Linked DNA regions of Homo sapiens: regions 1, 2 and 3 are each linked to region 4. The links are contacts of gene promoters, found by promoter capture Hi-C in human tissues and cell types (Jung and others, 2019). All regions are on one chromosome and are shown on one strand. The core of a region is centred on a gene start or on the middle of the fragment in contact, and the rest is flanking DNA. Distances in the headings are between cores, read along the strand shown.

Evidence for each region. The method cuts DNA at HindIII sites, captures the fragments that hold promoters and counts their contacts. A contact is called where the count stands out against the background at its distance.
Region 1: a fragment that was not itself captured here is called in contact with the fragment with the promoter of TNS1 in region 4 in 2 of the 25 tissues and cell types used here (bladder and spleen).
Region 2: a contact is called between a fragment that was not itself captured here and the fragment with the promoter of TNS1 in region 4, in 2 of the 25 tissues and cell types used here (adrenal gland and pancreas).
Region 3: a contact is called between a fragment that was not itself captured here and the fragment with the promoter of TNS1 in region 4, in 2 of the 25 tissues and cell types used here (IMR-90 fibroblasts and ovary).

What each region holds. Positions count from the first base shown.
Region 1 is chr2:218,074,807-218,077,827 of GRCh38, forward strand. RUFY4 (RUN and FYVE domain containing 4) reads left to right here. Exons shown (of 13, transcript NM_198483.4): 9 at 287-934; 10 at 1,621-1,727. Among named protein-coding and RNA genes, the nearest start is that of RUFY4, 7.1 kb to the left of the region's middle. RefSeq lists an enhancer at 1,222-1,723. The HindIII fragment of the contact is 3,853 bases long and covers 1-3,021 here.
Region 2 is chr2:217,909,959-217,912,850 of GRCh38, forward strand. All of the region lies in intron 4 of TNS1 (tensin 1), which reads right to left. Among named protein-coding and RNA genes, the nearest start is that of MIR6809, 11 kb to the left of the region's middle. The HindIII fragment of the contact is 9,234 bases long and covers 1-2,892 here.
Region 3 is chr2:217,933,788-217,936,596 of GRCh38, forward strand. The region is part of intron 3 of TNS1 (tensin 1); the gene reads right to left. Among named protein-coding and RNA genes, the nearest start is that of MIR6809, 35 kb to the left of the region's middle. RefSeq lists enhancers at 1-16, 686-1,194, 1,195-1,704, 2,661-2,809. The HindIII fragment of the contact is 4,943 bases long and covers 1-2,809 here.
Region 4 is chr2:218,001,472-218,004,506 of GRCh38, forward strand. It overlaps TNS1 (tensin 1), which reads right to left and starts at 1,524. Exons shown (of 33, transcript NM_001387777.1): 1 at 1,369-1,524. The coding sequence starts at 1,401. RefSeq lists enhancers at 1-468, 469-969, 2,710-2,809. The HindIII fragment of the contact is 30,357 bases long and covers 1-3,035 here.

The sequences.
Region 1 (3,021 bases), core at 441-2,940, 74 kb after region 4:
CAGATCAATACCCAAGACCCAGGTGCAGGAGGGAGAAGGATGTGGGCTGCGGGAAGGGACAGAAGGACATCAGGATGTCCCTCACCAGACCAAAGCATGGCGCTCAGATCACCTGGGTGTTGCTAAAAGTCAGATTTGGGGTTTGATAAATCAAAGCTTCCAGTGAGAGGACCTGGTACCTATCTATTTAGCAAGCTGATTAGATTAGCACTGTGGCCTAATCTAATGGCACCAGGTCAGTGAATTGGTGCTGAGAGGGATGACTGGTTTTGGGTCCTCTCCACAGATCCCAGCCGCATATGGAGGGCCTGAAAATGTCCAGATTGAGGACTCACACACCAGTCAAGCCATCTGTCTGCAAGATGCACCCAGTGGACAGCAGCTGGCAGGGCTTCCCAGGTCCCAGCAACAAAGGCATCTTCCTTTCTTTTTGGAAAAGAAGGGGGAAAGTTCCAGGAAACATAGGTACCCCCAGAGCATGTGGGAGCCAGAAGGGAAGGAGCTTCAGCTAGACCAGGAGGAAAGAGCCCCATGGATTGAGATCTTCCTGGGGAACTCAACACCCAGCACCCAGGGACAGGGGAAGGGGGCTATGGGCACTCAGAAGGAGGTGATAGGGATGGAGGCTGAGGTCACAGGGGTTCTGCTGGTTGCAGAGGGTCAGAGAACAACAGAGGGGACTCACAAAAAGGAAGCAGAGTGGAGTCACGTCCAGAGGCTGCTGATGCCCAGCCCCAGAGGGGCTGTAGAGGGAGCAGTATCAGGGAGCAGGCAGGGGTCGGGGGGCTCTAGCATCCTGGGGGAGCCCTGGGTCCTTCAGGGACACGCAACAAAGGAAGACTCTACCGTGGAGAATCCACAAGTGCAAACAGAAGTGACCCTTGTGGCCAGAAGGGAGGAGCAAGCCGAGGTGTCCCTGCAGGACGAGATCAAGGTGAGAACAGTTGAGCTCCATACCTGGTTATTTGCCCCTGTCTGACCTGGCCCACAGATGAGGGTCTGCAATGGTAGCCTGGGACCATTCCCTCCCACGGGTCAATTTTTATTGGCCCACTCAGGATTATTATTTGGGGATGCCTTTGAAAGCCATACATTCTTCAGGTCCCCACAGTCCCCGCCTCTCCCTATTGCCCCACGCTAGACCCACTTTATTCGGCAATACTTCTTGCCCAGCCCCAGTAGGCTTTGGAGTTTGAGATCCCTTCCCAGCAGTTCTTCCAGGCAGTCACTTCCTCTCTCCAGTTCCATATCCTCATGATGGTAAGTCTCTTCCCGAAATCTAAGTTCTACTGTTGCAGAGCCCACCTAGTTGCTCCTGTGGTGGATGCTTCTCCTGGAGGTCACTCAAGATTGTCACCAAGCCTCCCTTCGGCCTCCACCCAGGAACTTGCAAGTTTCTGAGTTTACAACTTCCACCCTTCAGTGAAGGAAGAAACCGTGGCCCAGGCACACCCAGAAGCAGGGCCTAGGACAGAGCCAGGCATCACAGCTCCCAGCACTGTCCCCAGCCCTGCCAGGGCATGGCCTGGGGTCTCTCGGGAATGTTGTTCAGGTCAGCCCCAGCACTGGGGTCTCTGCCCTTCTCCTTCAGCCTCCTTCTCCCCTCCTTCCACCCCACAGAGCCTCAGACTTGGGCTCCGGAAGGCTGAGGAGCAGGCCCAGCGCCAGGAGCAGCTGCTGAGGGAGCAGGAGGGGGAGCTGCAGGCACTTCGGGAGCAGCTCAGCAGGTAACCTTGGCAACCCACAGCACAGGGCACCTGGAAGTGCTCCCTAGGTCCTGCTGTCAATCACGGTCAAGCCAGTGAGGTCTTGTGAGAACCTCCCATGCACCAGGCCCTGGACTGGGCACACCTTTGGGATCTGAGGCCTGCAGGGCATTGCTCCTGATCCCAGGGCTCCACCCTCCCTCCTCTGTGCATCCCTTTCTCGTAGGTCTCCCAGAGCAGGAGCAGCCCCAGGAAAGGCCCCGCCTCCTGGCCTGCTTCCTTCCCACCCTCACCCCTGCCTCCCTCTGCTGCCTCCCCTGGGCAGCTCCTCTCTCTTTTTCACCCTCTCTGCCTCCCTACTCCACTGGACTTCTTTCCCCCATCTCTTTCTGTCTCCCTTTTTTACTCAGTTTCTTTGTGTCTCATTTGCTTCTTCCTGTTATGCCACCTCTCACCCTCTCATAATCACAGCTATCATTTACTAAGCATTTACTACGTCCCAGGCACTGCTGTCGGTGCTTCTGCGTAACACCCTTATGAGATGAGTTCTATAGAACCCCCATTTTATAGAGGAGGAAGCTGAGGCTCAAAGATGCTGCACAATTCACCCACCATTGGCTAGTTAGCGGGGGAGCTGAGATTCAAGGCCTGCAGCTGACTCCAGAACCAGTGGGCTCAGACGCCCCATTCAGGCAGCATGTCGAGTGCCTGCACTTCAGTCTCTCCGTTTCTCCTGCTCAGTGTCTCTCACCATCCAGTGTCTTCATCTTCCGTCATCACATTGACCTCAGGGGCCCACAGCACGCTGTCTGTCTCTACCATCCCCCCTCAGTCCTCAGTCTCTCAGGTCTCAGTTTCTCTCTCTCTCTCTCTCTTTCTTTTTGTAGAGACGAGGTCTCACTACATGGTGCAGACTGGTCTCAAATTCCTAGGCTCAAGCTTCAGCCTTCCAAAGTGCTAGGGTTGCAGGCATGAGCCACCACACCCAGCCCATAATTTATTTTTTAAAGTCTCTTCTCACTGCAGAGATCTTCCGTGGCCTGACTCAGCCTCTCTGTGTCTCTCTCCTGTGGTCTCCGGGTACGTCAGTCTGCCCACCTGCCCCTGTCTCTCTCTCCCACATGGCTAACACCTGCCCCAGGTCCAACAGACACCAGTCGGACCCCAGCAGAGCCTGAGTAGCTGTGATTCAGCCTGAATCACTAGGAAGCCTTCTGGCTGTCTGCTTCGCAGGTGAGAGAGGCCCAGGAGCCCAGAAACCAACCCAAAAGGACCCCCAGGCTCCTCCCACTCCACACTCAGCTGAGCACACAGT
Region 2 (2,892 bases), core at 364-2,863, 91 kb before region 4:
GACACTAGAAAGCTCTCAATACTTGTCAGCTATCACTATTGTTTATCGTCTCTAGCCTCGGGGCAGCACCTCATATCCCTGAGGCCCAGGCCCTCTCCAGCCCACCCTGCCTCACTGTGACCCTCTTGCCCCAACCCTCCTGGGTCTGGCATGGTGCACACAAGGGAGCTGAAGTCAATATTAGAAACCACAGGCCTCAGCAGTGCAAGAGAAACTTTCTCCTCCTGCCAGTGATCATCTGAGCACCATCCCCTTTGCCCCCACCCCTTCCCCATGCCAGCTGGAGGCCGGCCACAGGGTGACGCTTGCCAGAGTTCAGATGCCTTCAGCTTACTGGTTGAGATGCTTTCTGAGGAGCTAAAAATTTCCAAGTCCCCACCCCCTGCACCATCTAAACATCCCAGTTGTCCTGCAGTGTTTGCAAACACAGCCAGCATGCATGCTGCCCGACCCTCCTCTGCCCTCCAACCCAACTCTCCCAGGATTCAAGTCCTATCTCTCTGTTTCCCAACACTTCCAGCCTTGGGGCTACTGGGAAGGAAAAAGGCATGGGACTGGTAACAGGAGGGCAGGATCCCCTGAGGCTGCCACTGCCCCAGGCCCTGCAGGGAGGCCGGGGCCAGTGGGAAGCCCTACCATTGACACTGCCTAATGAGTCCAGCTGGCACTCCCGGGACCCTCTGGAACCAAAGCCCCTGACCTTCATCTTCACTCCATTCCTGGCCAGGATGTTTCTACAGCTACCACATACACATACACACACACACACACACACACACACACACACACACACACACACACACAACCATCCTTGCATGCCACTCCTGGGGACATCTGCTCTGAGAGGGACTTAAGACATCATCTCCTCCATCCCCCTGTTTCACACATGGGGAAATTGAGGTCCAGGGAGGTCTGATCTGCCCAGCCTTTCATGGTGAGGTTTGTGGCATGGCTGGAGCTGGTTCCCAGGTTTGTAAAGCCCACTGCCAGGCTCATCTCACTGCCCTCACCCTTGGCCCCCAGCCATCCTGCTGGCAGGGTGAGCTGGTGCCTCCCTGCAGGCTCTTCTTTTCCTTCCTCCTCAAGTCAGCTGCAAAGGGATGAAGTGGGTGGAGGCCAAACACAGACAGACCCCTATGTCTGTCTCCACCCACTGCCCAGTCCCAGGACAAAGCCTGGAGCTTAAGGTCCCCAGGCTTTCCAAAGTGAGAGCAGCTGACTCACTGTTCCACCAGGGGTCTTCCAGAGTCCCCCCTTACCTCCCAGGAGGGACAACTCAGAATCCAGCTTAGAAGCAGGTGGCAGGGTTTGAACCTATCACTACCTGAAAACCAAGCCCTGCTCTTAGCGGGCTGCTCTGCTCTAGAGTCCCAAAACCAGCAGTTAGAGCAAAGCAAGGTGGGGACTAGGGCGAATGTTGGGGCACAACATTTAAGAAGGCATTGCTCTCACTCTGAGGTCCTGCGAGTGCACTTGCATAATCCTGAGAGTGATGACTCCTCAGATCTTGCACCCTAGAGGCCTCACTCTCTGGCCCTCATCCTGGCCCTGGCCCTGAGATGCCTTTTCATAAACTTATTGCAAGAATTACAACTATTCATTTAGGGATGGCAATGCCCGGAACACAGTACTGGGCTCTTTGCTTTCCTGATCACCAGTCCTCACAACCACCCTGGGAGGCGAGCATTACCGCAGGGTACAGTTTAGGAAACTGAGGGCCTGGGAGATGTAGTGACTCACCCAAGGTTCCACAGCCAGTCGGTAGGAGAGCTGCTGTTTGAACCTTGCTCCTCACCTCCCCATCATGCTATCTCCCCTCTCCCTGGCAATGATCTCCAGGCAGTTCCTCTGATAACTGCCTTCCTGTGGGGAACAAGCTTTCTGAAAATTGAAGGCCAGTTATAGCAGGACTTCTGTCCAGGTCCTCAGTAGGAAGACACTTCTTAACCATACTTCCACAGAAAGAATAGGAACTGGGCTGCATAGGAAAGACTGAGATCAGACAACAGAGAGAACTTCCTGAATTCGAGGGGTCGGGAACCACAGGGTGGATAAGGGAAGCTCCACATCCTTTCCTCAATTTTTTTCCAAAAAAAGACACATATGCCCTCTCCACACATGCCTTTACCCTCCCCCACTGCATGGGCCCAAGGTGGGGCCAGGAGGGGCCTTTCTGCTGGAAGGTTGGGGGGTGGCTGCCAGGACGGCCTAGAGGCTCACGCAGGAGGACAGGTTAGTGGCCTGCAAGGAGGGTGGGCTGGGAAAAATGTATCTGTGCTGCTGTTTTAGAGGAAGGAAACAACAGGGTGGGGGAGGTTCCCATGCCTGAGCCCAGGGCCGAGGGGAAGGGGATTGGGGAGGAGGGTGCGCAGAATGCGGGCTCAGCCTCCGGAGGAACATTCCGTCCGGAAATTCCTTACACCCTGCCCCTTTCCACCCTCCAACTCTCCCGACTCTTGCCCCCTGGGAGGCCTGGAATCTGGGGGGCTTGGGGGCCAAAAAGACCACCCCATGACCAGATCTACTGCCATGGCAATGAACTGCGAGGTCACCATCGCACTGCCTATCAAGAGGGGAAGGAACTGGGAGCTGGCAGGGAGGGCTAGCGAGGGCTGGAATGGCCTCAGACCCAGGACCCAGAGAAAGTTATTCTAGGCTCACTTGTTTCAAAAATAGAATCATAAGCAAATGCAAGGAGGGGGCTAAAAACAGAAGGGAAGGGCAGGGAAACAGAGTTTATGGGGCACTTGGAGCATGGCAGGCTGTGAGATGGCACGTTAGAGGTGCGGCCCCATTTAATCGTCCCCACATACAGACCTATGAGAGCCCTCTATCAACAGCCTAATCACGAAAACAAGGCAGCGGCAGCGGCAGAAGGCAGCAAAGGGAGAG
Region 3 (2,809 bases), core at 126-2,625, 68 kb before region 4:
GCACACGGGCAGAAGCTGGGTGGGAGGTGTCAGAAATGGAAGAGCAGGTGCACAAACAATAGGGTGGAGTAGATAGGAGGATACGCAGCCTGAACATTATGGGGTGGAAGCACAGGTAGCTGGAATTTTAGGGACAGAGGTGGTGAGGAAGGGCAAAACAGAGTTTAGGGCTCGGGACAACCATATTATTTGAACACATACAAAGAACATGTACTTCATACAGATTATCCCATTTAATCCTTCCAACAAGAGATTCAACAAGCAGTAGCCTCTTTTCACATATGAGGCTACTGAACCTTACAGCGGAGAAATGTGTTGGCCAAGGTCACACAGCGATGAGTGGTTGAGCTGGGACTCAAACCCAGGACAGCCAGACTGCAAATTCTACACTCCTTGAGGCAAGCCAAGTCACCTGGATGCTTGGAAGACAAGACAGAGCATCGATGGAGCTGAGGGGGTGTGAAGGCATAGGTGATGGGAGGGGCTGATCCAGAGAAGCACAGAGAGGCAGAGGGGATGAGGTGTGGCACCCTGCTGGCCGGGACCCCCAGCTCCTAAGGAGGACAGGGAGGGAGGAGCTCAGGCTGCTGTGATTCAGTGGCTGGGCCTCCGGGGAGAATTTCCGGAGCCCCAGACAGCTCTGTGCAGTCTAGGAGCCACCTACCCAGTGGAGACACTGAGCCATTACTCACAACTGTTACTCACTTTGCCTCTGCACCCCCATCCCCAGCACATCACTTCCTCCCACTCTGTTCCCTTTGGGTGGCCAAGGCAGGCAGCAGATCTTCCCCAGTCCCCTCCTTTGCTTCATTGGCTCCAATCCTGCCAAGCGTATCCCCACCTGAGTCACTGGGACAGAGACGGGAGATTCTGGCCAGCCCAACCCTGACAGCTGTTGCCCTCTGCTCTGTTCCAAGAAATCAAGCTGCCTGGAGGAGTGGTCACTGGGCAAAGAACGTTCCAATTCCAGTGCTGGAAGGACCTCCCCAGCATTTCAGATGGCATCCCAGCAGATGCCTGAAGAGCCAACAGGATCCCACCTCGATGCTGGACAGCTCTGCCAAAGGCCCCAAGACTAGGAGCCTCTCTGTTCAGAAAGATCCATGCACTTACAGAATTTCAGCACTGCTGAAAAGAGAGAACGCCCCTAACTCGAACTTCTCATTTCGCAATTGAGGAAACCAAAGCCCAAAAAGTGGAAGCAATTTGCCTGAAGTCACACAGTGCCAAAAGGGACTAGCAGGTCACCTGACGCCCCTGCCACAGGTCCTTCCGCGGCACTACACAGACCTCTCTCTCTGCCCCAAGTCAGAGCAGGCCCCTGAAGTTGACTCTGTCACCCTCCTGTTGCAAAGCAGTGCTGAAGACGGGAGATCTGAAGGCAGGGTGAGGAGGGGGAGGAAGGAGTTGCAGCCAGACAGCGGTTACTGGGGAGGAATCACTTTCCAACAGTGAAGGGGCACTGGACTCCAGGCCACCTACTCAGAACAGTCTGCCCAGGAGGCAGGGAGATGGACTGCAGGCCCTCCGGAGGCTCTGGAGCTCAAGGGCCAGGCCCTCTGGCAGGAGATGATGGGAGGAATTCTTAGGGTCCCAGCTGGGAACTTGGGAGAGTCATGGCCTCCTCTCCAATCACCTCTCCTCCCCCAGCCCCCACCCCTCACCCTGGCTCGCCTCTGCTCTCCCAGGGCTCCAGCCTGGAATCCAGACCTGACCACTGCCTCCACTCCCACGCTTGGCCTAGCTCAGCCGGCCACAGCAGAGGCAGCCACATGTGTGGTGGTGGAAGCAGTTCGTGAGCCACCGAATTCCTTCTAAGCCTCCAGAGGAGCCTCATCTATCTCTTGTGCTCTCCCCTCCCACTCTGGGCAGTTGCACTCATCCCAGCCAAGAAACCCCTGCTGCCAGCCCCACTCTCTCCCACTGTATCAATAATAGTAATAACCATAACAAAAACAGCAATAACAATCACCAAGGTTTATGCAGAACAGCCTGCATGCCAGACCCGCTCTATTTGTTTCCTGCATTTTACAGGTGAGCAAAGGGAAGCACTGGCAGGTCAGGTAAGTTGTTCATAGTCATATAGCCTGCAAGAGATGGGGTCAGGATTCACATGCAGACCGTGTGGCTGCAGACACTGTGAAGGTGACCCCCACATCACACTGCCTCATGAGAGGTCATTGCTCTAGGAAATAAACGCTGCTGAAATTCCCTCTTCTTCATCAACACACAGTCCCTGACCACCTGCGACATGCCAGGCACCTGGCCTTTGAGACACTCAACATTCCATCTAGCTCTGGACAGGCAGCCACTCTCTGCACTCACCAGGCCACGTAGAGCCAGGCTGGGCATGGCTGCCTCCGAGCAATCAGGCTCCTCCACCCTGACCAGGGAACACTCCTGTTCGTTCATTCATTCATTCATTCAACAAACAGTAAGGGGCTACTGTGTTCCAGGTCAGATGGTAAAGGAGGCCCCCAAAGGATCCTCTCGGTGCCTTAAAAATATAAGCTGCCTACAGTCTACCCTCACTCCTGCCTGCTGCAGTTCATCCATCCCAGGGCTGCGTGTGAAGACTTGCCAAGGATGGCTCTCTCCTGGCCTGAAAGATCTCCCAGGAAGGAGATTTCAGGGGCCTCCTTGGCCTCCCAATCCAGGAGGGGAGGATGGTATGCTGGAAGGAAGCCCAGAGGGATCAGGGAGATGAAGTGACTTGGGAGAGGATTTTCCAGCCCCAGGGCTGAGGAATTTGAACATAGGATTCCAGGAACCCAGGCCCTGGCTTGAGGCCTGCCCCTAGGACTCCCCT
Region 4 (3,035 bases), core at 274-2,773:
CTACCTGCCATCCTTCTTGTGTCACCCCTGGACGTCTACCTGCCATCCTTCTTGCTGCAGAGCTCCCTCCTGCCTACCTCTGTCCTCAGCACAGAGACGAACCTGGCCAAGGCTCCCATTTCCCAGATGTCAACACCAGCCCAGTAAACCACAAATGCATCCTGTGTGCAGGCCTCCCCAGTCACTCTCAATCTATTAATCCAATCCATCCCAGCACCCCAGCCCAACATGCCACCCAAACCGCCTCATTCCAGGCCCCCTCCCCCACCCTTTCTTTCTTTGCCCAGAGGACACCTGGCTGCCCGAGTTTGTGTTCCCACAACTGCCCCCAGCATGGGCTTGCCTGGGCCAAGAGGGCCCTCCCGAGGACTGGCCAGAACAAGGAAAGGGACAGGAAAGGCCACATCTGGATCACAGCCCTGAAGCCCCCTCCCCCAAACCAGCCATCACTCTCTCAGAGCCCAACAGTAACCTCAGCCAGGGACGACTTCCTCACCCTCCTGACCCCATGCATGCCTTTGCCTGGCCAAGACAGCCCCACAGGAGCCCCTCTGAGGAAGGGGTCCTCTCCTCCTCTGACCCCCAGCCCTTCTGCAGCAGGCAGCCCTCTCCCATCCCCCTTTACCCAGGAGCCTCAGCCCAGGTCTGGCCTTAAGACTTTTAACCTTCACCACGTGGCCCCCAGGCCTCTCTGCTGGCCCCCCTGGCATCCCCATCCTGAAACCCACCTCCCTGAACCTGGAGCCAAGAGAGAAAGGGGGAAGAGCGGGCCATGGCTCCCTCCTCCAGGATGGAGAGGTCTTGGTAGCAGGGGAGGGCTGTGGAGGAAGGGATGGCAGTGGGTGGAAGCTGAAACTGGGTGTAGAAGGAATAAAAGGGATGGACTCTGAGAATTCTCCCACAGCCCAGCTCTTCCAGACTTAATATTTTGGACTACTATTCTTTGCTCCCCAGCCCCACCACTGCCTCCTCCTCAAGATCTTGGGCTCAGCAACTGAGGGGGGGCGGTGAAGAATTTTCACCCCATTGTAGGATGCAAGTCGGGAGGAAAGGCTCTAAAGAGAAGCAAACTTCTCTGTGGCCTCCTTCCACTTACAGCTCTGGGACTCCATTGGGGGGTGGGGGGGTGGGGCAGGGGATGTACTGACCCGGGACCCTGGGCCTGGGCCCTGTTGGTGGGGAAAGTCTTCCGGCTGAGGGTTGCTCAAGTCAGTCTGTCCTTCTGTAGGTCAGAGACAGAAAGGCCCCTCCTTCAAGACTGACACCCCCCGACCCCGGGCTCTCAGCAAAAGGATAAGGTGGCAGGGGCCGGTGGGGGGCGGGGGGTTTGAGGAAGAGTAACGTCGCAGCTAAAGCAGCCAGACCTACCCAGAGCATGCAGGACAGACAGATCCACGTCATCTTTGCTGGGTCCCGTCACTGAGGCACGCCCAGGGCCTGTGAAGAGCCCCTGAAGCTAGAGTCCCCGCGGCGCTGGCAGAAGGGCTCTCTGAGTCCGCGGCTGCTCCGGCTCCGCCAGCATCTGCTGGGCCTCTCGCCCTGCTGCCTCCAGCTCACCCTCCCTCCTCCTCCTCCTCCCCCCACTCCACCCCTCGTCCCAGCCTCCTCTCTCCTCCCTCCTCCCAGGCTCCACCGGTGGCCTTGAGGGTCAGGAACCCTGCTTTGCAGGGGGTGTAAAGGGGACAGGGAAAAGGGAAAGCTACCAGAGGCAGGGCCCCCCCAGGCCGTGCCCCCCACCCCCGGACACACAACCCCTGTGTGCCACCAAGGCTCCTCAGTCTTCTGATCTGGTGCTGGTAGGCCTGGAGTCCTCCCTCCTCACTGCAGACCCCCGCCCCTGGCAAACCAGCCTGGGGGCCTTCACTCCTGGAACCCTCCAGACCACTGATGGATGAACAGACAGCCCCAGGCCCACACAATCAGCACACTCAGGGTGCCTTGGCCCCTCCCCTTCTCTGAGTACCCGTGCCTGCCTTCCTGGCCTCCTCGGAACACACATGCATTTGCACACACAGACTGGGACAGACTCTGGTGCCCACGCGCCAAGCTCAGAGCCCAGGACAGGCCTTAACACAGAAGAAATAGGGCCCGAGACTGGGGAAGAATGGCCCTGCCCCCAGGCTGTGGGTTTCATTCCAATTTTTTTCCTATTTCTTTTTTTTTCCCCCTTCTTTCTTTCTTTCCTGCAAACATCTGTCCCAGCCTTTCCTGCCCTTCTGAAAGGGAGCCCCGCTCCAGGCTCCCGCGAGAGTGTGTTTTTCTTGACTGTACCCGGGGCCAACATTTGGTTTGCATTTCCCCACTTCCTCCCCCTCCTCCCCTCTCCCCCTCCCTGGGCCCAGTTCTCCCCTCCCACCATTCCACAGGCCTATTTCTTCCCCTCAGTGTCCCCTGCCCACCAGCCCTCCCCTCCCCTCGCCCCCACCTCTGCCCAGGGACAATTGTTGGGGGTCTAGAGGGTGGAAAGGAGGCTGGGTCAAAACCCAAAAGTATTCCCACGGAGCACTAAGGGGGAATCCAGCAAAGTCTGCCCCAGGCCTTCATTGTCTGGAACCACCACGTTCCCCTCCAAAAAAAACCCTTCCTCTTTGAGCTCTGGCCTTGGCTGGACCAACTGAGGGTGGGTGGGGGCCAGTGAATCACCCGCTCTGTTCTTTGGAGCTGTCCAGGAGAAGGAGGGAGGGCTCAGCCCCACACCCTCCTGTGGACACACACACACACAAGGACACAGTCCAACTCACGTCAACACATAAGAGCCCTCCCAGAGTAGGCACTTGGAGACCTCGTTCCTAGACTGAGTCACTTAGCAAGAAAAGTTCTCTTGCCTGGCCTCCTATGCACACTGTGCTATACATGCCCTGGGGCCACATGCACGAAGGGTTACAGATCCCCTGCCTCCCCCCCCCACTCACCCAAGGCCATGCCATGCCGCTGTCTGTCAGCACCACATACCGTGCAACTACCAGCCTCCTCTTTCACAGGGATCTGCCCAGCCACTTGTGCCAACTCCCAGCCCAGGGACCACCCAAGACATC